Linked DNA regions of Homo sapiens: regions 2, 3 and 4 are each linked to region 1. The links are contacts of gene promoters, found by promoter capture Hi-C in blood cells and fetal thymus (Javierre and others, 2016). All regions are on one chromosome and are shown on one strand. The core of a region is centred on a gene start or on the middle of the fragment in contact, and the rest is flanking DNA. Distances in the headings are between cores, read along the strand shown. Region 1 holds the start of GCM2 (glial cells missing transcription factor 2). Region 2 overlaps LOC101928146 (a long non-coding RNA gene). Region 3 has its middle 24 kb from the start of TFAP2A-AS2. Region 4 overlaps LINC02522 (long intergenic non-protein coding RNA 2522).

Region 1 (6,701 bases), core at 1,917-4,416:
GGTGTAATAAAGGCTCAGAAGAGTGTATAATAGCAGTAAGCCATTTGCATCTCCTCCCCACTCTTGCCACTCAGGAAAATTAGATCAAACATTTGCAAAGCTGAAGTATTCACAGTTGGAAAATTCAGACTTGTATACATCATTAATACTGCACATTCTAACAGTAATAAGGTTAATGGGTGATTTTGTTTCCAAAATTACAAAGATATTGTTGAAATCATTATTACTACCATAGGTATTATTTATCTTTTCTCTGAAATATTACAATTGACATGATACATCAATGTAAGGTAAGTCACAAATGAAATATATAATGATGTGCTATCAACTCCAAGCTTATATTAAATGCTAATATCTTTGTTTTAAAAGTGAATATTTTAACTTAAGGATCTTAGTAACAAATTGACAATTTTCCAGAAAACAGCATTTCTTTAGCTCTCCCTTAAGGATGTAGACTAGGCCCCCATGCCTCACACGAGCTACTGAGGTAGTGACCCTGGCAATGAAGCCACAGAGATTGTATTTTTAAAATCAGTACAAGAATAGAGGATGTCAAGGATTGGGTTTCACTTGCTCTCAAGTGTTGGCATGTTGTGTGTGTGTGTACATACACACACATAGACACTGAACCTGATCGTAGACCTGGAGGAGAGTTTGAGATGGTTATCTCACTCTACCACTTGATGACAAGTGAGTAAGTAGCCTGAGACTAAGGCAAATTCAAGGACTCTCTCAAGGTCAGACAGGTAGTTTAACTTGCTCACTCGGTTACCCAGAGCAGGGCGATGCTAAGTTTCTTCACTTCTCCATGTCCCAGTGTGCCTGGCCCGTTTGAGATATTACACACATGCTTCCTGCTTAACAACCAGTCTCCTAAAAAAAAGTTCATATTGACATGGGAAGTCTAGCAAATGCTTGAGAGATGAACCATAATTACATTACTTGGATGTGACTTTTCTAAAATGCAAGATATGATTGTTTCCTGTGAAGATGTACATGGACAGAAACAGAATGAGATGCACTTGCTGTACTGTGGTCCACTTTCATGAAAATGGTACCATGTGACTCTAAAGTAGGCAGACTTTAAAACAAAGGAGTGGGCCAGGCACGGTGGCTCACGCCTGTAATCCCAGCACTTTGCGAGGCTAAGGCGGGTGGATCAGCTGAGGTCAGGAGTTCGAGACCAGCCTGACCAACATGGAGAAACCCAATCTCTACTAAAAATACAAAATTAGCTGGGCGTGGTGGCGCATGCTTGTAGTCCCAGCTACTCGGGAAGCTGAGGCAAGAGAATCGCTGGAGCCTGGGGGATGGAGGTTGCAGTGAGCTGAGATCGTGTGATTGCACCCCAGCCTAGGCAACAAGAGCTAAACCCCGCCTCAAAAAACAAACAAACAACAACAAAAAACCCCAACAAACAAACAAAAACAAAGGAGTAAAACACACCTAACCTACTACAAATATATGGATCCAAAAAAGTGCTGACCTCTATGAGAGGCGACACAATGTTGCAATGAATTGTTATTCATCTGAACACCTATCAGACACATTTTAGTTGCGGACAAAATGACCCATCTCTTTTATCCCTGTGCCACAACATTGCTGGAAGCCCACATCTGCAAATGGCAGGGAAGCAACTCTCATTCTACACCCCCCACCCCCTACAGCCAGGACTTCAACATCACTCAATTTTGGCCCTAACCAGTGTGACTAATGATAATTGGTCATTCTCTGGAACTGGCTTCAAACCACCCACTTCATTCACCACTTCATCCACCCCAGTCATTCTTTGGACTTGGCTCCAAACCATTTTTGCTTTATTGAAATAAAGCAAAATACAACAAATTCACCCTAAAAGAATGATGATTTGCTTGTCATTAGAGAAGAAGTAAGTTTTGGGTACAGGTGGCCTTGTTGGCATGACTATGGGGCCTCCTTCCTCTGAGCAGTTAGGGAGGTCTGAGCAAATTGCTCAAGTCGGGCTACTTGTTTTAAATTTAGGTCATTAGATTCACTTTACAGTTGTACCTCAGTTTTGCTGCATGAGAAGCAGTGGTATTTACATCTGCTTAGATTTTCTCCTTAGCTTCCTCATGGATTTAAAGTAAATGAATAAGGAGAGAGGCACCTAATTTCTACCTTGGTTAAAGGGAAGTGAAAGGACAGGCGTCCCGCTCTCCCCAAGACTGGGAATGTGGAGCCTGACCAACATTTCCTGCTGCTTTGCTTGTGATTTCAGGCAAGCACAAGGAAATTGCTGGGAGAAGACACATTTCTTCTTCTTCTTCTTCTTCTTTTTTTGAGATGGAGTTTTGCTCTTGTTGCCCAGGCTGGAGTTCAATGGCGTGATCTTGGCTCACCGCAACCTCTGCCTCTCGGGTTCAAGCGATTCTCCTGCCTCAGCCTCCCGAGTAGCTGCGACTTTAGGCATGCGCCACCACGCTGGGCTGATTTTGTATTTTTGGTAGAGACGGGGTTTCTCCATGTTGGTCAGGCTGGTCTTGAACTCCCGACCTCAGATGATCCACCCGCCTCAGCCTCCCAAAGTGCTGGGATTACAGGTATGAACCACAGCGCCCGGCCAAGAAGACACATTTCTAAACCCAACTCAGCCTTTTGTAGAGTCCAGTTTTCTTTCTACACTTGAGAGGGCCTCAGAAACCCAGAAATTTTGCGGGTATGTGTGTGTGTGTGTGTGTGTGTGTGTGTGTGTGTGTGTGTGTGTGTGTGTGTATGGTCCGTCCGCAGACTCTTCAAGAACTCGAATGCCATTCTCCCTCCTTCGGATGGACAGCGCCCCGCGTGCCCGCACACACCCGGTTCACTTACCTGAGGCATCTGCGGATCGTTGATGTCCCAGCTGAGCTGCATCCCGTAGGAGCACACGCCGACCGCTTCCTGCACCGCGGCCGCCGGCATCTGCCCAACTCGCTCGCGCTTTCCGCCCAGGGTTCTGAAAAATAGAAGAAAAAAGGACAGGTGCGCCAGGTGGGTTTTTTTTCTTCTCTTTAAAGAAGAAAGTGGGGTGTGTGAAGGGGAGGTGCAGAGAGAGAGAAAGAGAGAGAGGCTGTTTAGATATCTGGAAGCTGGGGACAATGGTTATGGACCCGGGCGGGGCCTTGTCCTTGGCCGCGGTGCTGAACGTTCTCCACCCGAACGGCAGCATCGACCTCTGGCAGCTGCCCCCTCCTTTATAAAGATATACCTCCGGGGGGCTCCGCCCTGTCTCGCCTACCTCGCTAGCGCCCACGCTCCAGGGGCCGGTCGCCCCCTCCACCACAGTCCCAGGAACGGAGGTGGAGGTTAAACTCAGCCCTGGAAGCAAATGGAAACTGCAGCCAGAGGGTGGGGGTGGAGAGGGTAAGTAGGAATGTATCCTTTAAGTTTAAAACCTTATTATTTTCTTCTTTTCTTTTCTTCTTTTTTGTCTCACTCTGTTGCCCAGGCTAGAGTGCAGTGGCGCCATCTCAGCTAACTGCAACCTCTGCCTCCCAGGTTCAAGCGATTCTCCTGCCTCAACCTCCCGAGTAGCTGGGAATACAGGTCCGTGCCACCACCCTGGCTAATTTTTGTATTTTTAGTAGAGACAGGTTTTAGCCATGCGAAACCCTGACCAAGCTGGTCTTGAACTCCTGACGATCTGCCCGCCTGGGCCTCCCAAAGTGCTGGGATTACAGGCGTGAGCAACCGCGACCGGCCTATTTTTTTTCTTTTTTCTAAACGCGTCCAGCTTCCCTGATTTCGGAAAGGGGCTTAGATGGAGGCTTTCCAGCAAAGTCCCCTGAGAGCCAACACTCAATTCCAGGAGAGCATGGGAACCGTGCGTGGGCCCCTCTGCCGTCCGCGTGCGCCCTAGCCTGAATAACCGCGCCCACGCCTCCTAGTTAGGGGTCAGCCCATTTTGGGCCTCCACTGCCGGCTCTTCCCCTAACTATTGTGAGTGTCTCGCAGTCTTGGCTCTGCTGTTTGGGACGTGCCAGGGTGCGCCAAGCCTCCGCGTATGCTCGCGAGCCCAGGCGCCTTCACGCTCCCGGGGACTTCGGAGGGACCTGGCCCTGCAGGAACGGAGTCCTACAAAGTGAACCTGGAGGAGGTGGGGGGCGGAAATGAGCCCGGGGTAGGTGGGAGCCTGGGGTAGGTGGGAGCCTGGGGAAGGAGGGAAAGGGGAGAGGGGAAAAGTCCCAAAGAACTCGCTTTCTCCACTGCTTTGGCTCCCTCTGGGTCTCAGCTTCCTTATCTGTTTATCTGTTAAATAAGAGGTTGTGGTTCGGCGAGCTCTCAGTTGCCACCCACCCGAACACAAATCTTTTTTTTTTTTTTTTTTTTTGAGACGGAGTCTCACTCTGTCTTCCCGGCTGGAGTGCAGTGGCGCAATCTCGGCTCACTGCAACCTCCGCCTCCCAGGTTCAAACGATTCTCCTGCCTCAGCCTCCCGAGTAGCTGGAACTACAGGCGCGCCATCGCGACCAGCTAATTTTGTATTGTTAGTAGAGACAGGGTTTTACCAAGTTGGCCAGGATGGTCTCGATTTTTTGACTTCGTGATCCTCCTGTCTCGGCCTCTCAAAGTGCTGGGATTAAAGGCGTGAGCCACCGCGCCCGGCCCACAACTCTTAAAAAAAAACTTCACTGATATAGTCTTGGAAATATCACGACGAAATTGAATTTACTCCATTACAGTCTTGGGAGGCTTTGGAGGACTAGAGAATCGCGGTGGTGCGGAGGTGCGCAGGACAATGTGGGTTCTCCGGGGCTGGGACGAAACCTTCATCATCTGAGCAGCCGACTCGCCCAGGGCTACTCCGGCACATGGAGACCCTCAGTATATATATATATAAAAAAAACAAAAAACAAAAAACAAACAAAACAAAACAAAACCGATTGAAGTGACTAAAGTCACTCTTTGACTACCCCAAGGCCGGATTCTTGGCGGCCAGGGGAAAGGGCTTCTGGAATTTATTGCCCGCGTCCTTGTTTTGCAGCTGCACGCTTCCATTCCCAGCCCCAGCCAGAGAAGAGGAGCCAACTCCTCACGGCAGATCCCTTGATAGAGGAGGATGAACCGAATCCATGACCCTCCAGACCCGGGAAGCGACGCACCCTAGGCCTTGGCACCGCAAAGCCCGTGCTGAGCGCACGGACGGGTGCTGCCCGGGACTCGGCCAGGAGGGCGCCCATGCCAACGCCTCTTGCAGGATTAGTGCCTTCGGTTGGCAAAAGGCGGATAAAGGAAGAGCGAAACCACATCAGGAAGCTAAGGGTGGTCCACGCTCCCTGTCCTTTTACTTCCCGCGCCAAAGGCACAGTGAGGCTTGCTTAGAAAAGTCCATCCCGCGATTGGGCGCAGTGGCTCATGCCTGTAATCCCAGCACTTTGGGAGGCCGAGACGGGAGGATCGCTTGAGCCCAGGAGTGCAAGACCAGACTGGGCAACATGGCGAAACCCTGTCTCTTCGAAAAAAAAAAAAAAAAAAAAAGCCGGGCATGGTGGCGTGTGCCTGTAGTCCCAGCTACTTGGGAGGCTGAGGCGGGAGGATCGCTTGAATCCAGGAGGCAGTGGTTGCAGTAACCTGAGATAGCGCCGAGCCTGGGCGACAGAACGAGACCCTGTCTCAAAAAAAAAAAAAAAAAAAAGGAAGGAAAGAAAGACAGAAAGAAAGAGAGAGAGAGAGAGGAAGGAAGCAAGGAAGGAGAAAGAAAAGAAAAAGAAAAAAAAAAGAAAAGGAAAGAAGAAAGAAAAAGTATCCCAGTCGGTCAGAGAAGCCTGCCAGTGGCAGCGGACCAGCGAACTCTGTTGGGAAGAAAGGCCAACTTCGAGCAGTTCCTCGCGATTTTTTCCTCCTTTATCTTCTAGCTGGGGTCCTCCTCCCAGTCAAAGCCGAAGGGTCCTAGCAGAAGAAAGTGATTTGTTCATTCCCAGCCTCCTTTCTCCCGAAGTTCTCCCCTCCTAAAAGGTCCTGTCAGTCAAGGTTTCTGATTAAAATCACTCTCAAATGGTCGCCACTGAGGTCTAGCTGGGAACGAAGAGATCTGTCTACTCTTCACCCACGAGTTTCATTCACAGATTTTTCATCTTATTAACTGTCTGCCAAAGGTCCCCGAAACTCCTGTTGATTCAGTTGCTTTTCGTGTTGTTTTGTCTTCCAAAATTGAATGAAAATTTATTGATTATCCATTTTAATTATAGTATTTCATTAAATGTTGTAGTCTAAGATAACTTATCCTTTCAAATGTTCTAAAAATAACTTTAAAATGGTGATTTAAAGTTACCTCTGAAAATGCATAGAAATTAATTTTTGGTCTTATTGCAGTGCTAGAATAGTTCTTGTCTCTGTGCTTTTGGAATGTTCCTAGAGAGACCTGACCCGTCAAAAACATAAATAAATAAAACTTTTTTATGTAAAAGGCAAATCAATTAATTTCTAAAGGGATTCTGGTATCCAAAGAAATGTCATAGAGCCTCTACTATATTTAGTTTGAGAAGAATTAGAGTATGCATTTCAAGTTGCCATAAATTATATTAAGACAAAACATGTTAGTAAAAGAAGCTAATCAAAGTAAAAAAAAAACCAGATAAAAGGTATTTTGCCTATTCTGTTATTTTTAATTTCTCTTAAAGATTTGAATGCATTGCACCATAGACTTTGGAAGGACATGTTTTCCCCCAAAGCCTGAAAATAATAGATGATTAAGTTTTCTATCT
Region 2 (6,388 bases), core at 396-2,895, 370 kb before region 1:
ATTTGATGCTCAGTTAAGTTACATCAAAATAATTAAAATGAAACTACAGGTTGAGTATCCCATATCCAAAACGCTTGGGACCAGAAGTGTTCTGAATTTCAAGTTTTTTCTAGGTTGGAAAATTTGCATATACATAATGAGATGTCTTGGGGATGGGACCCAAGTCTGAACATGAAATTCATTTATATTTCATATACACCTTATGCACATAGCCTGGAGATAATTTTATACACTATTTTAAATAATTGTGTCCAAGAAGCAAAGTTTTGGCTGCTGTTCGACTGAGACCCATCACATGAAGTCAGGTGTGGAATTTTCCACTGATGGTGCCACATTAACTCTCAAAAAGTTTTGGATTTTGGAGCATTTCAGATCTCAGATTTTCAGACTAGGGATGCCGAACCTCTATGTAATTTTGCTTTGAATGTGTCTGGGACACTGGGGAAATTTTGATTTTTAAGATTCATCTCTAATTCTGAAAATAACCTGGTTGGGTGCAGTGGCTCACGCCTGTAATCCCATCATTTTGGGAGGCTGAGTTGGGCAGATCTCCTGAGGTCAGAAGTTCGAGACCAGCCTGGCCAACATGGTGAAACCCTGTCTCTACTAAAAGTGCAAAAATTAGCTATGCATGGTGGCACACACCTGTAGTCCCAGCTACTTGGGAGGCTGAGGCAAGAAAATCGCTTGAGCCTGGGAGGCAGAAGTTGCAGTGAGCCAAGATCGCGCCACTGCACTCCAGCCTGGGTGACAGAGGGAGACTTCGTCTCTAAATAAATAAATAAAATCTAAGTGATGGCACGTCACCCCGGGGCATCTTTCCACTTTCACATTCTCTCCTGGCTGCTTTACCTGCCCTGCCAGCACAGTCCAGAGGGCCCCCACTAGCATTCCACATGCCAGGCCTTGCTTAGATGGAAGGCCTTTTCTTCCATCTAATCTAACCTGTCTCTTGTCCCATTTTTCCAGAACCTCTATTGGATGGCATTTTCTAGAACCTCTATTGGTTACTTACGGCATAATGAGATATATAGAGGTTATTGCTAGGTCATCCTTCTTGACTCAAATCTCATTTAAGCAATTAGCTTCCTTATGAAACTTCATAAGGGTCATTGTGGATCCCTTGGCTGGCTGATGGGGCTGAGATCTTGGGATAGGCAGGTTTTTCCTTGCGCCTCGAATGCCACGTTGAATACTCCTCATGTCTTTGGAGACATGTCCTTCCCTTCGAGCTGCTCCCAGTCAGGTGAGGAATAAAATGCTATGATGGCGTGAAAATTCTCCCTTGGTCTCATCCATAGATTTGCAATCACCTAAAAAAAAAAAAGGAAGAGTGTGCCAAGCCACCCCATATAGAGCCACTGTGTGGCAGCACTGCCTCTCGCCAAAGCTTGGGCCACTCGGTGTCAGGCAAAGTGCAGTGGGGTGAGTTTCCAGTTCACTGGCGGTACAGGTAGCCCCTAGAAGCGATCGTGTGCAGTGAGAATAGCTAGCATTTCAGAGTGTTCACTATGCGTGAATACTGCTCAGAGTGCATTCTACTTATTAACACATCAACTCACAAAACAGCCCTACTGGTATTATCTTTATTTTACTGACAAAGAAATTAAGACAGATAGGAAAAGTGATTTGCCCAACGTCACACAACTAGGAACTAGCAAAGCCAGGATCTAGACCCACGCAAACCTCTCTTTGAAGCTCATGCTTTGCTACCAAATATCGTGTCATTCTGGCATTCACGAGGAAATCTTGAAAATAAAGCAAAAAGTTGTAAAATGGTATCAAGTCCACAATCGCTGTCTTGATGTAGTGCAAGCACAGTGGTATACAAGGGACATCCGTAGATACAGAGGAGAGGGTCAGCAAACCTTCTCTGGTAAAGGCCAGATGGAAAACATTTTAAGCTTCGGTGGTCAGATGTGGCAACAACTTAGCCCTGCCATTGTAACGTGAAAGCAGCCATAGGCCCTGTGTAAACAAATGAGGACGGCTGTGTTCCAATAAAATTGTATTTATGGACACCGAAATTTGAATTTCATATAATTTTCATGTGTCACAAAACATTTTTCTTCTTTGGATTTTCTCCCAACCATTTTAAAATATAAAACCATTCTAGCTGAGAGATTGTCTAAAAACATGCAGCGAGCCAGACTGGACCCCCCCAGCTGTGGTTTTGCTGATCTCTGGTATAGAGGAAAGAAGGGTGGCTAAACTTAATTCGGTGAGTGCCTACCATAAGCAAGGTGTTGAAAGTGCAGTGACCAGCAGACCGAAATAGTTCTCCATGGGACATTATGTTGAGTGAAATAAGCCAGGCACAGAGAGACAAATATTGCATGATCTCACTCATGTGGAATCCACATAGAAGTAGAGAATAGAACAGTGGTTACCAGAGAATGGGAAGGGAAAGGAGCAGGGGGGTGATGAGAGATGGATCAACAGGTGCCAAGCTATAGATAGAGAGGAAGAATAAGCTCTGGAGTTCTACTGCATAGGAGGAGGATTACAGTTAATAATAATGCATTGTATATTTCAAAATACCTGGAAGAGCAGTTTTTGAATGTTCTGATAACAAACAATAAATGTCTAAGGTGATGGATATGCTAATTACCATGATTTGATCATTACACAATGTATACATGTATTGGAACATCATGCTGCATCCCATAAATACGTATAATTACCACCTGTAAATCATACATTTAAAAATAAAATATTAACTTTTTGTTTTAAAAATAAATAGTCCTCCATGGACTAGTGGTAGAGCAAACAAACAAGCAATTGTAGGAGTACAAGGTTTTATTAGGGCAGGTGAAGGGCTTCTAACCCAGACTTGGAAGAGCAAGGAAGGGTCACCAGGGAAGCAGTGTCACATAGGGACCTGAAAGATGAGTAGGAACTCAAGACAAGGCAGGGGGAGAGAATATTCCAGGTAGATGGCCTATGCAGTGAGAAGAGATAAGCTTGAGGCTAGGCACAGTGGCTCATGCCTATAATCCCTTTGGGGGGTCAAGGAAGGAGGGTCCCTTGAGCCCAGGGGTTCAAGACCAGCCTGGGCAACATAGTGATACCCCGTCTCTACAAAAAAACGATTTTTATTTTTTTATTTTATTTTATTTTTTTTGAGACGGAGTTTCACTCTTGTTGCCCAGGCTGGAGTGCAATGGTGTGATCTTGGCTCACTGCAACTTCCACCTCCCGAGTTCAAGCGATTCTCCTGCCTCAGCCTCCCTAGTAGCTGGGATTACAGGCATGTGCCATCATGCCCAGCTAATTTTGTATTTTTGGTAGAGATGGTGTTTCTCCATGTTGGTCAGGCTGGTATCGAACTCCCAATCTCAGGTGATCTGCCTGCCTCGGCCTCCCAAAGTGCTGGGATTACAGGCATGAGCCACCTCGCCCGGCCCCAAAAAAAATTTTTTTAAGGCTGGGTGAGGTGGCTCACTCCTGTAATCCCAGCACTTTGGGAGGCCTAGGCGGGTGGATCACCTGAGGTCAGGAGTTCAAGACCAGCCTGGCCAACATGGTGAAACCACTTCTCTACTAAAAATACAAAAATTATCTGGGCGTGGTGGTGGGTGCATGTAATCCCAGCTACTTGGGAGGCTGAGGCAGGAGAATTGCTTGAACCTGGGAAGCAGAGGTTGCAGTGAGCTGAGATCGCACCATTGCACTTCAGCCTGAGCAACAAGAGTGAAACTCTGTCTCAAAAAAAAAGAAACAAAATCTTATGTTTAATTAGGCAAGCAATGTGGCTGGCACCTGTAGTCCCAGCTACTCAGGAGACTGAGGCAGGAGGATGGGTTGAGTCCAGGAAGTTGATGTGGCAGTGATTGCACTCCAGCCTGGGCACAGACCCAGACCCCAACTCTAAGATAAGAAGAAGAAGAGTTAGGTTTGAAAACCCCAGGCTGCCATTAACTCATTACTGGATATCAGGCAAGCTAGCATATCTTTGGGCGTAATTTCTTCATGTGCAAAGTGGATATAATGTCAATGCTTACCTCTCAGGCCATCAGTGAGAAAATGGAGACAAAATGTGATAGAATAGTCGTTATGGGTCATTGTCAGTGTTCTTTATTTGTAACTGAATCAATTGGTGAGAATAATCTGCAAGATTCCTTTCAATCCTGAAATACTATAAATTCTTGATCTTTATTTTTAAGTAAAGAGACCCCACTATCGAGGAGTTCTGGGTGCTGTCCACGTAAATGGTGACCTACTTCAGGACAACTGTGATTGCCTGAAGTTGAAGAAATATAGTGTCCCTTGCATTCAAAGGTGACATCAGTGATGGTGATGGTGGCTCTGCATGGGAAAAAGAGGTGCCAAATGAACACACATTCCACCTGTACTCCACATGGGAAAAACACCCTGAGCTGGCAGCTGTGGCCGATTTGCTAGGGTCTTAATTTGTGGTTGACCTAGACAGAGGTGCCCAACTGTGCCTGGCTTTTGTGAAGTGGTCAGCTGGCCCCACTGGCTCATGTTCAAAGAGTCACCTGATTTTTTAAATAGAAGAGCTACCGACTTGTGGTTGATCCTCCTTCTTTTAAGTAAATGGTCATATTGCACTTCTTGCTGCAAATAAGTTGCTAGAGCACATTTCTCAAGTCTGGGCAGGGACCTGCAGACTGACTTCAGCAATGGCATAAAATCAGGTGAATGATGAATCCAGAAAAGACCATAGGAAAAATAAAGGTAGAGGCATTTGGGTTGGTCCTAGGGCTTATGGCCACGTCCATAACTCTTTTATTCCTGTATAGTAACTATTAGGTCCCGCAAAAATATCTTCCATGGGGGAAGATCTCAAACTCTTCAGTCCTTGCAGAAGTGTGTGGCATGATTGTGACAGGCAAGAAAATGTTCTTGGATGAAAATATACCAGTGACGCCATTGAGAAATAATAACCTGCCAGCGATACTTGATCCGAAATCACTGCATAATGGAACCTGTGTCCAAAGACGAAGCCGAGTTCCCTTTGGCCTATGTCATGGTCATCCGCAAAGACTGATACATTTGAAAGACTCTTGAGGGCCATCTACACTCCCCAAAACATCTACTGTGTTCATGTGGATCAGAAGGCCCCAGTCACTTTCAAAGACGCTGTAAGAAAGCTACTGAGCTGCTTCACAAACGTCTCTGTGGCTTCTGAGAGGGAGTCTCTGTTCTACACAGGGATCTCCAGGCTCCAGGCTGACCTGCACTGCCTGAAAGACCTTGTGGCCTCTGAGGTTCCCTGGAAGTACGTCATCAACACCTGTGGGCAAGAATTCCCCTGAAAACCAACAGGGAAATACGTTCAGTATCTGAGGTTACGGAAAAGGAAAAATATCACCCCCGGGGTGCCGCCTCCTCCTCATATTATCAGAAGGACCAAATACATGCACTTGGAGCAGAGATAGCTTGTTTTCCTTCATGCTGTGGACTTGCATGAGAAAAATGCCTCCTCCCCACCATCTGACAATTTACTTTGGCTCTGCCTATGTGGCCCTTACAAGGGAATTTGCTAATTTTGTTCTTCAAAACCTAAGGGCCATTGATTTACTTGAGTGGTCAAAAGATACTGACTCTCCTGATGAGCATTTCTGGGTGACACTCAGTAGGATTCCAGGTATGTGGAACTTGATTTCCAATCTACATAAAGTCTAAACTCTGTGAGTGCACGCACACGTGTGTGTTACACATTGAAAATGGTCTTGATGAAGTTATGTATACCCATCTGTGTTTCTAGACTTAATGAATATCCTGTTGACTGCTTTCCATATGTTTCAATAAATTAATATAAAATATACTTCTGGCCAGGTGCGGTGGCTCATGCCTGTAATCCCACCACTTTGGGAGGCCGAGGTAGGCAGATCACTTGAGGTCAGGAGTTTGAGACCAGCCTGGCCAACATGGTGAAACCCTGTCTCTACTAAAAATACAAAAATCAGCCAGGTGTGGTGGCACTGGCCTGTAATCCCAGCTACTCAGGAGGCCAAGACAGGAGAATCACTTGAACTTGGGAGGTGGAGGCTGCAGGGAGCCAAGATTGCAGCACTGCACTCCAGCCTGGGTGGCACAGCAAGACTCCATCTCAATGAATGAATGAATAAATAAATAAAATAAATTATGCTTCTATGTGTCACTAAATAGACTGTTAGCTTATAGAACATCCTTATTAAATTTCTGCTGTCATTGTATGTTATGTTTTGTTAAATTTTTTGTTGGTACACAGTAGGTATATATATTTATGGGTTACATGAGACGTTTTGAATCAGTCATGAAATGTGAAATAATCACTTCAGGGTAAACGGGGTCTCCATGACCTCAAGCATTTATCCTTTGTGTTACAAACCATCCAATTACACTTTTATTCCTTTTAAAATGTACGATTAAATTATTT
Region 3 (5,913 bases), core at 71-2,570, 500 kb before region 1:
TGAGTAGCTGGGATTACAGGCATACATGACCACTTCTGTCTAATTTTTGTATTTTTAGTAGAGACCAGGTTTCACCATGTTAACCAGACTGGTCTCGAACCCCTCACCTCAGGTGATCCCCCCGCCTCAGCCTCCCAAAGTGCTAGAATTACAGGCGTGAGCCACTGCGCCCAGCCTTAACTAGTAGTCTTAAGCACACTCAGCCTGAGTTAGTGAGTCAAGTTCTCCTACCTAGCCCAGTGGTTCTCAATTTCTCACTATTATCACTCCCTCAATATAAAGTCTAACAAGAGAAATTGAATACGAAGGAGTTACATTTTGTCAGGTAGGGTTAGTTTGAAGGACCACAGACCATTGTAACATCTGAGATTTGTTTCATCTCCCAGGAACCAATTTTTGCCCTCTTGAAGACAATATCACCCCAGTTGAGAATGCATGCTGTGGCCTAATTCCGTATATCAAAATGAGTAACCAGTCCAGCCCTACTCTGTGTATAAATCTTTTATTGGAACTTACTTCACTGTTCTGTAATTATATTTGTATTCGTCTGCCTCCCACCAGGCAATAAAATTCTCAATGGGATTTTTTTTTACTTCCTAGAAAAGAGCTCAAAAGCATTGAATAAATGAATGAACAGATGAATAAATGAAATATAAAGATTGATTGGCACAATCCAGAAGCCAGTATGTTCTTAATAGCTCTGCCTCTTCATTCCTTGACTAACTGATCTGAGGTTCAAACAGTAAAGGCATCTGCAGGTGTTGCCTCAGACAAGTGACTACTGTGAAATGGCACTAGGTTTCCAAACATCCACAAAGTCTTGCCCACTTTTTGGAGGATAACAGGTGCAGGAGGCAGTGACAGAGATTTGATGTTTGTTTGATGTCTTTGTGACCATTTCTCTACCAGATACAATAGGGTGTAGGAAGTAGTAATTATGTTGTCTCAAAGCAGCATTGTAAGTTTACTTACAAAAATGAACACTTAACCTTTCTCACTGTTGTGCCTGGACTGGCTGCCTAGAGTGATGGCCGAGAGCAGGGCTAATGGTCCAGGCAAGGCAGAACAGGGCACCCTGCAATTAGGAGGAAGGATATCCCTAAAGAAGATGGTGGTGGGGGATGCCAGAAACCCACTCCTGCCAGACCCTGAGATCCCACAGGATGCAGGGAGACTCAGTGGGAACAGCCAAATCTTCTCCAACAGTATTTCCTCCATTAAACCAGGAGTCTCTCTGTCTCATTCTCAACAGATCCATCACCGCTCATGTTCCAAAACAATCACTCAGCCAAAGTTCAATCAATTTCAGTGGTTGCTGCTGCAGAGTAGGTTATTGTAGCTACTAACAATTACAGATAAGAAACAGCATATAATAATAATAACAACAAAAACAATAGTATATTCATGCAGCATTCTAACATTTGCAAAGTGTTTTCATAAATAAATGGAATTTTAATTTCACCACACCGTGAACAATATAGACTAGATGGGTATTAACTGCATTTTATAGACAAGAAAGCTGAAGGCAAATGACTGGAACTCCTAGGGTCGTAGGCTCTTCATTCTAGTGTAACAGATACCTGAGTTCCAGATGAGGCACTGCCGATTACTCACTGGTGGCCTAAGCCCCAACACTTACCTGCTCTCAACCTTGTTTCCCTCATTTAAAAAATAAAGATAGGAAAAACAGCACGTATCTCAAAGGGTTGCCAAGAGTTTAAATGAGGTAAAGCCTATGTGGCACTGAGTGCAGTAACTGGCAAAAGATAATAGCTAAAAAAAAAAAATAGTTATTAGTATTAGTACTTGTATTTATTTTTTTATTCCCTATTTTGTTAAGAAAGTACTTGTGACCGGGCGCGGTGGCTCACGCCTGTAATCCCAGCACTTTGGGAGGCCAAGGCAGGTGGATCACGATGTCAGGAGTTCGAGACCTGCCTTACCAACATGGTGAAACCCCATCTCTATTAAAAATACAAAAAGTAGCCGGGAGTGGTGGTGCGCGCCTGTAATCCCAGCTACTCAGGAGGCTGAAGCAGGAGAATCTCTTGAACCCGGGAGGCGGAGGTTGCAGTGAGCCGAGATCGTGCCGTTGCACTCCAGCCTGGGTGACAGAGGGAGACTCCGTCTCAAAAAAAAAAAAAAAAAAAAAAAAAAAAAAAGAAAGAAAGCACTTGTATTTAGATTACATAAAATATTAAGCAATATGTGCAAAGCTAAAATGATTCAATTCCAGCAGCTCTCAAGGGCAAAAGAAAAATATTCAAATTGTCCTAGCTATTTACAAAAAATATATATATTTTTGACTCGTAACAAATAAAGACATAGAGAAATGATCCCATTAAGGAAATATAAAACATCTTCCTTAAAACCATATTCTTTATATGACTTTCATCAATAGACTTCGCATCTCCTTTCCTCAACTCCATTTCATAAAGAGGAATCTGGAGGGTAACAGTCATTTTCCCAAAGTTAGGTAAGAGGCCATTTGCCCAGCCATGTAAAATAATACATCAGCCAAAACAGGACAATTCAAAATATTAGCTTCATAAGAAGATGGGTTTCTGTCTGTTTTGTTTGCTTACTGTATCCTCAGGGCCTGGAACAGTTCCTGACACATAGTATGTTATCAGAAAATGTTTGGTGAATATTGAAAATATTGAGTGCTTGAGCATCTTTTTTTTTTTTTTTTTTTTTTTTTTTTTTTTTTTTAGAGACGGAATCTCGCTCTGTCTCCCAGGCTGGAGTGCAGGGGCGCAATCTTGGCTCACTGCAAGCTCCGCCTCCCGGGTTCACGCCATTCTCCTGCCTCAGCCTCCCGAGTAGCTGGGACTACAGGCGCCCACCACCACACCCGGCTAATTTTTTGTATTTTTAGTAGAGACGGGGTTTCACCATGTTAGCCAGGATGGTCTCGATCTCCTAACCTCGTGATCTGCCCGCCTCAGCCTCCCAAAGTGCTGGGTTTACAGGCGTGTGCTTGAGCATCTTAATTCATCTTCAGATATTATCAAGGAGATTGTTCATTGAGTAATTTTCTGCTGTTGTTCCATTCAATCATTCACTTATTCAATACACACCTATTAAGCACCTACTATGTGCCAACTCTGGGCTGGGTGCTGGGCATAGAAATGTCAGAAGAAGGCCCGGTGTGGTGGCTCATGCATGTAATCCCAGTACTTTGGGAGGCCAAGGCGGGTGGATCACCTGAGGTCAGGAGTTTGAGAACAGCCTGGCCAACACGGTGAAACCCCATCTCTAGTAAAAATACAAAAATTAGCTGGGCGTGGTGGCAGTAACCTGTAATCCCAGCTACTCAGGAGGCTGAGGCGGGAAAATCTCTTGAACCTTGGAGGTGGAGGTTGCGGTGAGCCAAGATCGTGCCCCTGCACTCCAGCCTGGGCAACAGAGTGAAACTCTCGTCTCAAAAAAAAAAAAAAAAAACTGTCAGAATAAGATCACCTGCTATAGGAGTGTACCTCTGATATGCAGAGAGGAAGGAAAAAGCAAACATATAGGGCAGGTGTGGAGGACAATGAGCTTGCCCCTCCCCTCCGCTTCTCCCAGGCATTGCCTTGGGCTCTTCTTTCTGCATAGATTTTGAAGAAGTTTGAGTCTGTAACAAGCTTTCTATTTCAAAAGAAAAGAAACAGGAGCGTTTTGTGATTTTATTTCCACTCTGACCCACCGGCTCCTGCACTTCTACATTTGTCGTTGTGCCATTGCTGCCACTGTTGTTCTTGTCCAGGGAAACACCGGTGGCCAACCCAGATCGGATACAATGGTGCGGCTCTGGACTGAGCCTCCAACCACATTAGCCATGGGCAGCATTGTTGCTGCCGCTGCTGTTATTTTAATTATGATTGTACGTTAACCACCACCTTCCTTCCTCTGCCTCCCTTCAGCTGCAATGATGTATGTTACTTTTTGGTAACTGGATTTCATTAACATTTATGAACTCTCATAAAGTAGTAGAAAAAGCAATTTGTGTGGAAGAATTTTCCACCTCATTAAACAGTGTTCTTTTGGGGGTCAAGCTGATATTTTTTTTGTTGTTAGATTTTTTTTATAGGTCCTTTGTCCTTCCCTAAGCCCTGGGGGATGAAAGGAGAGCCGTCCACCCAGCGAGGGGCTTGTGTGCCCTAGAGGGCGCTGGGCCCCGCGCGCTTTCCTGGCTGTCCCCGCCGGCTTTCCACCCTCCCCAAAGCCCAGGTGCCCACCGTGGGTCGCTGCGGCCTTTCCCCTTCTTGGCCAAATCCGATTACTTCGCAGCCTGCAGATGGCATCGCCGGCTAAGGGCAGCCTGCGGCAGGTCCCCGAGCCTGAGCACTCCTCCTATCTGGGGCCTGAGAGGACGCTCTGGGCTTTTTCCCAGGCCCAGGGTGCGCGGCCTGCTAGCGCCTTTCGAGGCACAGTCCCAAGATAGGCTCTTGTCCTTCGACGCCCCCTTGGCACAAGCGCACTGGCGCCCTCCGCTCAACCCACCTTGCCTTTGGGGCGGGCTTCAACCCTGGGAAGACAGGCCTGGGGGAAGCGAGAGGAGAGGCCCGAATAGAGGTTCCGGCTCAATCTTTCCCAGACGGAGGCCTGGTGTTTCCAGCTCAGTTGCATCTTCCAGCCGCGGGCTCCTGGCCCAAACAGAATGTGTTTGCTTTCACACCGGGACGGCAAGCGGAGTCCGCCTCAGTGAGCAGCGAGCTGCGCAGTCCGGACGGGTGTCGCCCCCAGAGACTCGCCAGCCGCCCCCAGACACTCGCCAGCCGTCCCCATCTCTAATCCACCGTCCAGGCCCGGGCCCTGGGAAGACCCCGGGGACGCGCTGGAGCCCCTGAAGGGGGTCAGGGGGAACAATGCCCGAAAAGGGAGCCTCCCCGACCGCCAGTCCAAAGGAACCGGGGATGTGGCAGCGATTGCGAGGGGCCTAGGTTAGGGACACGCTCTTCTCGCTGGGTCCCAAGCCCAATCACCCAGGCCAATCACCAGCCTCTAACCTCCTTCCCCTCTAACCCCATCCCCACCTAGGAAGTTAAAAAACGCCCCTGCCGCCTTGACTCTTAGGGGGAGAAAGAGGAAACCCGAGGACTCCTGCCTGAGGGCTCCATAAAGTAACCAGGAACCGAGTGACAGGTGCTGGGAGAAATGAACATGCAGAAAGACCAGCTTTTTCTATTCTAAATGTGAATATGTAAAACAAGAGTTCAAACTCAAGAATCTGGGTGTCCATTTTGATTAAAAAACAAAACATCTCTCCAAGAAACAGGTTCTATGGTACTTGTGAGATGCTTTTCTGCCAGACAGCTCCCAAATCACATCTTATTAAGGGAGACTTCGAAGGCCTGTTAGCAGGTGACTGCGGCAGGGGCAGGGGCGCATCAGCTGTCCGGCTTGGACCGGCGTGGGCGTGGGCTGGGGGCTTTTCCGATTTGCTGAGTCAGCCGCGGGCGCCGCGGGCTTTGGTGTTTCCAGCCCAAGCGACTGTGCTTCGCTGACTGGTGTGTCAACTTGGTAGTGTAATTATTGTTTTGTTTTCTAATATGTAATTACTCTTTGTCGTTGCTATTATGAATCCACCGAGCTTGACTCTTGAGCAGCAAGATGGATTCAAGTTTGAAGTTAGGATTTGATGCGTGGGGAAAACTGGCTTCTCCCCATGCGTAGGACACTATAGGGGCCCACGCGTGTCTTCCCCGCAGCCCAGCAAGAAAGGGGGCGCCGGGGGTGCCCTGGCGGATAACAGGCGGTCACGCCTGATCCCCGCATAACAGATCCACTCTCCGTGTGGCTACGAGCATGAATTGCCGAGGTTGTTTTCCTCTTTAGCATATTTATAAAGGCAGAGAGAGGGGCGGAGAAAGGGAGGGAGAAAAAAAAGATACACTGGAGAGATGGGCTGTAAAGTTGAGAATAGACAGA
Region 4 (6,759 bases), core at 3,878-6,377, 410 kb before region 1:
CGGCTGGCTTGGGTTCTATTCTGGCGGAGATTTGAAGGCAGGAGGAGGAGGGCAGGACTGCCTTTTTCTGGTTTGAGCGCTGTCCCTGCAATGGCGCTTCCCCCTCAGCAGCAGCTGGTTCCAGCCTCCGTTTCCCCTCAGCGCTAACGTCATTGCTCCCCCTAAACAGATCAGCAGCAGCCGTGTGCCCTTCTCGGAGGTCTGAGCCCCAGCTTCATAGGGCCATGTATTAGCTTCCTAGGGGCCGCCGTAACCAATGATCAGAGATGGTGTCATTTAAAACAATAGAAATGTATTCGCTCACAGCTCTGGAGGCCAGAAGTCAGAAATCAACATGTTAGCAGGGCCGTGCTCCCTGTGAAGGGTCCAGGGAAGAATCCTTCCTCGCCTCTCCTGGCTTCTGTGGTTGCCAGCAATCTCTGGCGTTCCTTGGCCTGTAGCTGCAATACTCCAAGCTCTCTGCCTCTGTCTTCGCACCATGTCCTTCCCCTTGTGTCTTCTGTGTCTTTCCATGGCCTTCTGATAAGAACACAAGTCACTGGATTTAGGGCACACTCTAATCTAATAGAACATCTTTTTTTTTTTTTTTTTTTTGAGACGGTGTCTCACTCTGTCGTTAGGCTGGAGTGCCCTGGTGCGATCTCGGCTCACTGCAAGCTCCGCCTCCCGCGTTCAAGTGATTCTCCTGCCTCAGCCTCCGGAGTAGCTGGGACTACAGGAGACTACAGGCGCCCGCCAGGCCTGGCTAATTTTTGTATTTTTAGTAGAGACGGGGTTTCACCATGTTGGCCAGGATGGTCTCTATCTCTTGACCTCGTGATCCACCCACCTCGGCCTCCTAAAGTGCTGGGATTAGAAGCGTGAGCCACCGCGCCTGGCCTAGTAGAACATCTTAACCTGATTACATCTGCGAAGACCCTATTTCCAAGTAAGGTCACTTTCAAAGGTTCCAGGTAGATGTCAATTTTTGGAGACTACTCCTCAACCCGTGATTGCCTCCTCCACCAAGTCTCTCAGTTCCAATAACTCCAGACTCTTCTCTTTAAGGGAAGAGTTATTCTAACCCTTAGAATAACTTCTAACCCTTAAGGGAAGAAGTTATTTTATATTAGCATGGTGCTTTATTTCATTTTGTTTGATGTTTGTTTGTTCCGCTCTTCAACACGTGTTACCAATTACCTTTAGTGAATTCCCTCCATTGAAATAACATTATGTGGTTTCTTCTTTCCTGATTCAACCCTGACACAGTGCTTGTTACCGGGAGAGGTTCTAGGAAACAAGACTATCAAAAATGAGAGTCTATAATCCCAGCACTTTGGGAGGCTGAGGCAGGTGGATGGCTTGAGATCAGAGTTCGAGACCAGCTTGGCCAACATGGAGAAACACTGTCTCTACTAAAAACACAAAAATTAGCCGGATGTGGTGGTGCACACCTGCAGACCCAGCTACTCAAGAGGCTGAGGCATGAGAATCGCTTGAACCCTGGAGGTGGAGGTTGCAGTGAGCCATGATCGTGCCACTGCACTCCAGCCTGGGCCACAGAGTGAGACTCTGTCTCCAAAAAAAAAAAAAAATACTGTAACGCAGAGTGACATGTGCCTGTAGTCCTAACTACTCAGGAAGCTGACACAGAAGTATTGCTTGAAGCCAGGAGTTTGAGTCTTGATATGGTTTGGATCTGTGTCCTCACCCAAATCTCATGTTAAATTGTAATCTCCAGTGTTCGAGGTGGGGCCTGGTGGTAGATGATTTCTTCATGGGGACAGTTTCTCATGGTTTAACACCACTGCCCCTTGGTATTGGAAGGTGAGTGATATCTGGTTGTTTAAAAATGCACGGCACCTCCCCACCACCTCTTCCTCTTGCTCCCAGCCATGTGAAGTGTTGGCAACCCTGCTGCCCTCCGCCATGATTGTAAGTTTCCTGAGGCCTCCCCAGAGGCCAAGCAGATGCCAGAATCATGCTTCCTGTACAGCCTGTGGAACCGTGAGCCAATTAAACCCCTCTCTCTCTCTCTCTCTCTCTCTCTATATATATATATATACATATATATATTACCTAATCTCAGGTATTTCCTTCTAGCAATGTGAGAATAGACTAATACAAGGCTGAAGTGCACTATAATCGTGCCTGCAAAGAGCCTCCATCCTGGGCAATATAGCAAAACCCCATCTTTATAAAAAAAAAAAGAGATTCTGGGATTAGCTTGGAAATGCCACTTGCCTTAAAAAGAGTGCTGAGCTCCTTGCAAATGGGACAGTAATGCATGTCATGCCATAGCATTATGATTAATTGCAGTATCACCTCTAGTGATTGTGATGAAATGCCTAATAAAGCAACTATTAGGAGACCAGTTAGCTGCTGCACTTGACCACTTCGTTAGTAATGATTACTACCAGGGCTGTGGACTGTTGTATTAGTTTTTCTTTGCTAGATAATGAAGTACCACACACTTGGCAGCTTAAAACAACACCCACATTGGGCACGGTGGCTCACGCCTGCAATCCCAGCACTTTGGGAGGCCGAGACAGGTGGAGCGCTTGAGATCAGAAGTTCAAGACCAGTCTGGCAAACATGGTGAAACCCTGTCTCTACTAAAAATACAAAAATTAGCAGGGCATGGTGGCGGGCACCTGTAATCCCAGCTACTTGGGAGGCTGAGACAGGAGAATCGTTTGAACCCAGGAGGTGGAGGTTGCACTGAGCCAAAATTGTACCACTGCACTCCAGCCTGGGCGCCTGAGACTCCATCTCAAAACAAACAAAACACCCATTTATCAGTTCACAGTTCTGTAGGTTGTAAATGCAGTATAGTTGTGTCCCCTGCTCAGGGCCCTACGAGGCTAAACTTGAAGTGTGGGCTGGGAGCTGTCATCGGCCACTATCGGCTACCCACATTCCTTGCCACATGGCTGCCTGTCTTCAAAGACAGCAATGGAGAATCTAGTTTGCTTTGAATTTCTCTCATGCTTTAAATCTCTGCCTTCCTCTTTCTCTGACCCATAGACCAGGATTTAGAGGGCTGATATGATTAGGTCAGGCCCACCTGGATGATCTCCCTTTTGATAAACTCATAGTCAACTGATTAGTACCTTTAATTACATCTACAAAATTTTTTTTGTCTCAAAATATAACACAATCATGGTATTAATATCCCATCCTATTCACGGGCTCCACCTACACTTTAGGGGAGAAAATTATACAAGTTCTCTACACCATGGGTGAGAATCTTTGGAACCTTCTTAGAATTCTGCCTACCACAGATGGTGTATTTTGGACTACATTGAAGAGCTTACAGGGGAACAAAAAGATAGGCTTAAAACACTGAACACAGAGAACCAGAGTGTGTCTATGGTACTCCTTAAAAAATTTTGCTATTTTGTGTGGCTGCAAGGTTACCCTCATTGAAAATAAGAACTTGTGTGGGTTGCAGAATTATAACATAAGTTGACTTCGCAGACTTGCCAAGTCTCCTGCCAAGAGCACTGATTGGGAAGGATAGACACATCTGGGTAAACTTAGATAAAGCTAAGAATTTTGAATCCCTGATTCACTGTGTATTTCTTGCCAGGAGAAGCAACGCTTCTTCATATGTGTAAGGAAATTAGCTTTCTCTTGCTTGAAAACCTTATAATGACTTTGAGGCAGTTATCTTGCAAGAGGATGCCTATTCTCCCCAATATCCGCTCCTTCACTCTTCATTGCTTTCAGACTTTTAATGGAGTCAGAGCTCAGCCTATTTCAGAGAGAAAAGTACAACACATGTCCCAGGAAGAGATAATTCATTTTTCAAAAAATTGCAAGCTTTTGCTAACATATCTTGGCAGGAACCTAAAAAATATATGTTGGGATGGATTCTAAAGGTTATAGAACAGATTAACATTGCATTTGGTCAGTTTATTAATGGGGATGCGCTTACTGGGGAATCTGGATTTCATGTGTCCACTCAGGCATCTAGAATTGGCTGTAACAATTTGATGGATTCAGTGGGCAAAACTTGGATTCAACGGTTGCCTATATCCAATAAAGTTAAGTTGTCAGACTTTCCTGGTGTGATGTCAAGGGAAGAATCTAAAAGCAAAAGGGAAAAGGAATGCTGCAGTGGACAGAAATGTTAACCAGGAGCCACCCCCGCCCCAAACTCACACTCTGAGATGGCCCAGAGGATGTTCTCTTCACTCTGTGTTTTGATATGAACCATGAAGTGTCCCAGATATTACCCCACTTGCACAATTATGTATTAGCATACGTGAATATGACAGAAAACACATGGCACCTGGGTCAGGGAAAACTATATTGATAATCTTTCCTTGAAGAGGATCTTGATGTCCGCCTCTACTAGGTCCACCACTGTGCTGCTCAAATCTACTTCATCTACATCTGGGGAGCAGCTCCTCCAGCCTTCCAGTGGGCCTCTCTTCCTGGAGGAAATGTAAAAGTAGATGGCTTAGAAGCACAAGCTACAACACCTGCTGCTGCAGCTGGTCTCAGGGCAATGACTGATACTTTTCATTTTCCTCCCCTAATCCCCAGTCTAGATTCCCCCTCACCTCTGCAGCTTACCTCCTGGCTTATCCAGTGGTGTGACCCTGGTCCTCATTCCCATGGGGTCTGAACTCTGGCCACCATGCCCTTCCCAAAAGTGTTCCTGCACTTGTCTGTCATCACAACTGGCCACGGGAGTACCATGGGTTGCAAAAGTGGATCAGTGGTGCCACACGTCTTCCCTACCCTCATAGTGGAACCACAGCCTTTCTTCTCCTGCTGATCAGGGTCAATTAGCCCTGCCAAGACTGTGACTCTTCTCTTTTATTGCTGGTCCCAATTATAAGAAGCCCAAAATCCCCAGGCAGCAGGCATAGCTGCAATGTAGTGGAGACTTTTGCTGTGTCCCCTGATAAAATTATGCCCCCTTTTGACCAGGATTTCTAGCACTGCAGAAAGAGAGGCTGCAGGGACAGGAAGCAAGACACTTCTGCTTCATCCCTTGGTTCATGACCAATATATTCTTCCTACTGGGGAGCCATCTCCTTATCAATGCTGTGTGATTCAATGTGTATGTGCCATCCTGGAGATGATGTCTCATTCTCATGGAGTGTTGCCTCTAAGCTGGTACTTTAACGGGGCCATCTACAAGTTATTCCAATGCCTTATAAGTCTGTAGCTTCTGGATGATGTGACAGGTGATACAGTCAGTTGACATCATGGTCATAGGCTTGGCTGGTCTGACTCAATCCTGGTGAATCAACATTCCTTCAACCTTCAAATAGTGGTACCAGAGGAGGCTCCATGGCAGGAAAGGTCAACCTATGCCTGCAACACATGCCTATTCCTCTTAGAACAAATCTCTGTCTTCCCAGAATAGAAACAGCCCAGTGTAGTCAACTTGCCACAAAGCCATCAGTTGGTCTTCTTGTGGAATGGTGTCATATCAACAGATCTGCATCGGGCTCCCTTGCTGAAAGTTTTGACATTCCACAGCAGCAGTAGCTAAATCACCCTTGGAAGTTGTTTTTCTGCTCACTCATGTGGCTGCTGTCAGTTGGGAGCTAAGCTGGGATACCTCGGTTCTGCTCCCCATGGCTGTTTTCCCCACATGGTGTCTTGTCCTCCAGGGCCTCCTTCTACAGCAGGATAGCCTTGCAGAATCGGGGCAACAGGTTTGGAAAGAACAAGCCCAATGTGCAAGCACCGATTAAGCCACACTTGCATCATGCTCTGGTGTCCTATTAGCCAAAGCAAGTCACATGAATGAGAATGAGCTTTTCCTCAAAGCATAAGAAACTAGGCCAAAGCAAACAACAAAAGGATCTTAGACAGACAGACACACACACACACACACACACACACACACACACACACACACAGAACTTCTCTTTCTCTCCTTTTATTTATTTACTTGACCACATCATCTGCTAAAACGTTAAAAGCAAATAAGATGCATTTTCCATTTTGTGATTTTAGAAAAATTTACATTATTACAATAGTAGTACATTCTTGCCTGTGAGTGTAGGTGATTGATTGTATGCAATGCAGTTCTGCTCAGAGCATGAAAGAGGCTGCAGGGAATTACAAAAGCAATTTCATTTACAATAGTATCAAAAAGAATAAAATACTTGGAAATAAACTTAACCAAGAAGACAAAAGACTGTACGCTAAAACTTTAAAACATTGCTGAAAGCACTTAAAGAAGACACAAATAAATGGAATGACATCTGTGCTCATGATTGGAAGACTTAGTTTTGTTAAAATGTCAACACTACCCAAAACAATCTTAATGTAATCATTTAGCAAATGATTATGACTATGATTTCATATTTGTTGGGGGCATAAGAAAATCATATGCATTATGATTACATTAAGCAAACAATGTAATCCCTATTAAAAAATCCAATTAAAAATTTATCCTAAAATTTATGTGGACTCTCAAGGGACCCTGGATAGCCAAAATAAGCTTGAGAAAGAAGGACAAAGCTGGAGGCATCACACTTCCTGATTTCAAAATATATTACAAGACGAGAATCGCTTGCCAGGAAGCGCAGGTTGCAGTGAGCTGAGCCTAGATTGTGCCACTGCACTCCAGCCTGGGCAACAGAGCAAGACTGTCTCAAAAAAAATTTTATGTATGTATAAATTTTATGTATACATAAAAATTTTTATACATACATAAAATTTTTTAGACAGTCATATATGGTAACAATAATCAAAACAGTGTGGTACTGGCATAAAAACAGACACATAGACCAATGGAATAGAAGA

What was found. Contacts are between HindIII fragments. The CHiCAGO score rates a contact against its expected background, and 5 or more counts as called.
Region 2: a contact is called between a fragment that was not itself captured here and the fragment with the promoter of GCM2 in region 1, in 2 of 17 cell types (naive B cells and total B cells). The highest score is 5.9, in naive B cells.
Region 3: a fragment that was not itself captured here is called in contact with the fragment with the promoter of GCM2 in region 1 in 2 of 17 cell types (total B cells and naive B cells); the score reaches 6.7 in total B cells.
Region 4: a fragment that was not itself captured here is called in contact with the fragment with the promoter of GCM2 in region 1 in 1 of 17 cell types (erythroblasts); the score reaches 5.8 in erythroblasts.

The regions. Positions count from the first base shown.
Region 1 is chr6:10,878,875-10,885,575 of GRCh38, forward strand. GCM2 (glial cells missing transcription factor 2) reads right to left here and starts at 3,167. Exons shown (of 5, transcript NM_004752.4): 1 at 2,830-3,167. The coding sequence starts at 2,919. RefSeq lists a silencer at 3,062-3,356. The HindIII fragment of the contact is 9,517 bases long and covers 334-6,701 here.
Region 2 is chr6:10,509,328-10,515,715 of GRCh38, forward strand. LOC101928146 (a long non-coding RNA gene) reads right to left here. Exons shown (of 3, transcript XR_001743961.2): 2 at 1,016-1,313. It also overlaps the pseudogene LOC100422564. Among named protein-coding and RNA genes, the nearest start is that of GCNT2, 8.8 kb to the right of the region's middle. The HindIII fragment of the contact is 514 bases long and covers 1,389-1,902 here.
Region 3 is chr6:10,377,176-10,383,088 of GRCh38, forward strand. No RefSeq gene overlaps it. Among named protein-coding and RNA genes, the nearest start is that of TFAP2A-AS2, 24 kb to the right of the region's middle. The HindIII fragment of the contact is 4,608 bases long and covers 1-3,624 here.
Region 4 is chr6:10,466,310-10,473,068 of GRCh38, forward strand. It overlaps LINC02522 (long intergenic non-protein coding RNA 2522), which reads right to left. Exons shown (of 4, transcript NR_183333.1): 2 at 4,564-5,726; 3 at 3,920-4,421; 4 at 1-519. Among named protein-coding and RNA genes, the nearest start is that of LINC02522, 12 kb to the right of the region's middle. RefSeq lists an enhancer at 30-536. The HindIII fragment of the contact is 2,650 bases long and covers 3,803-6,452 here.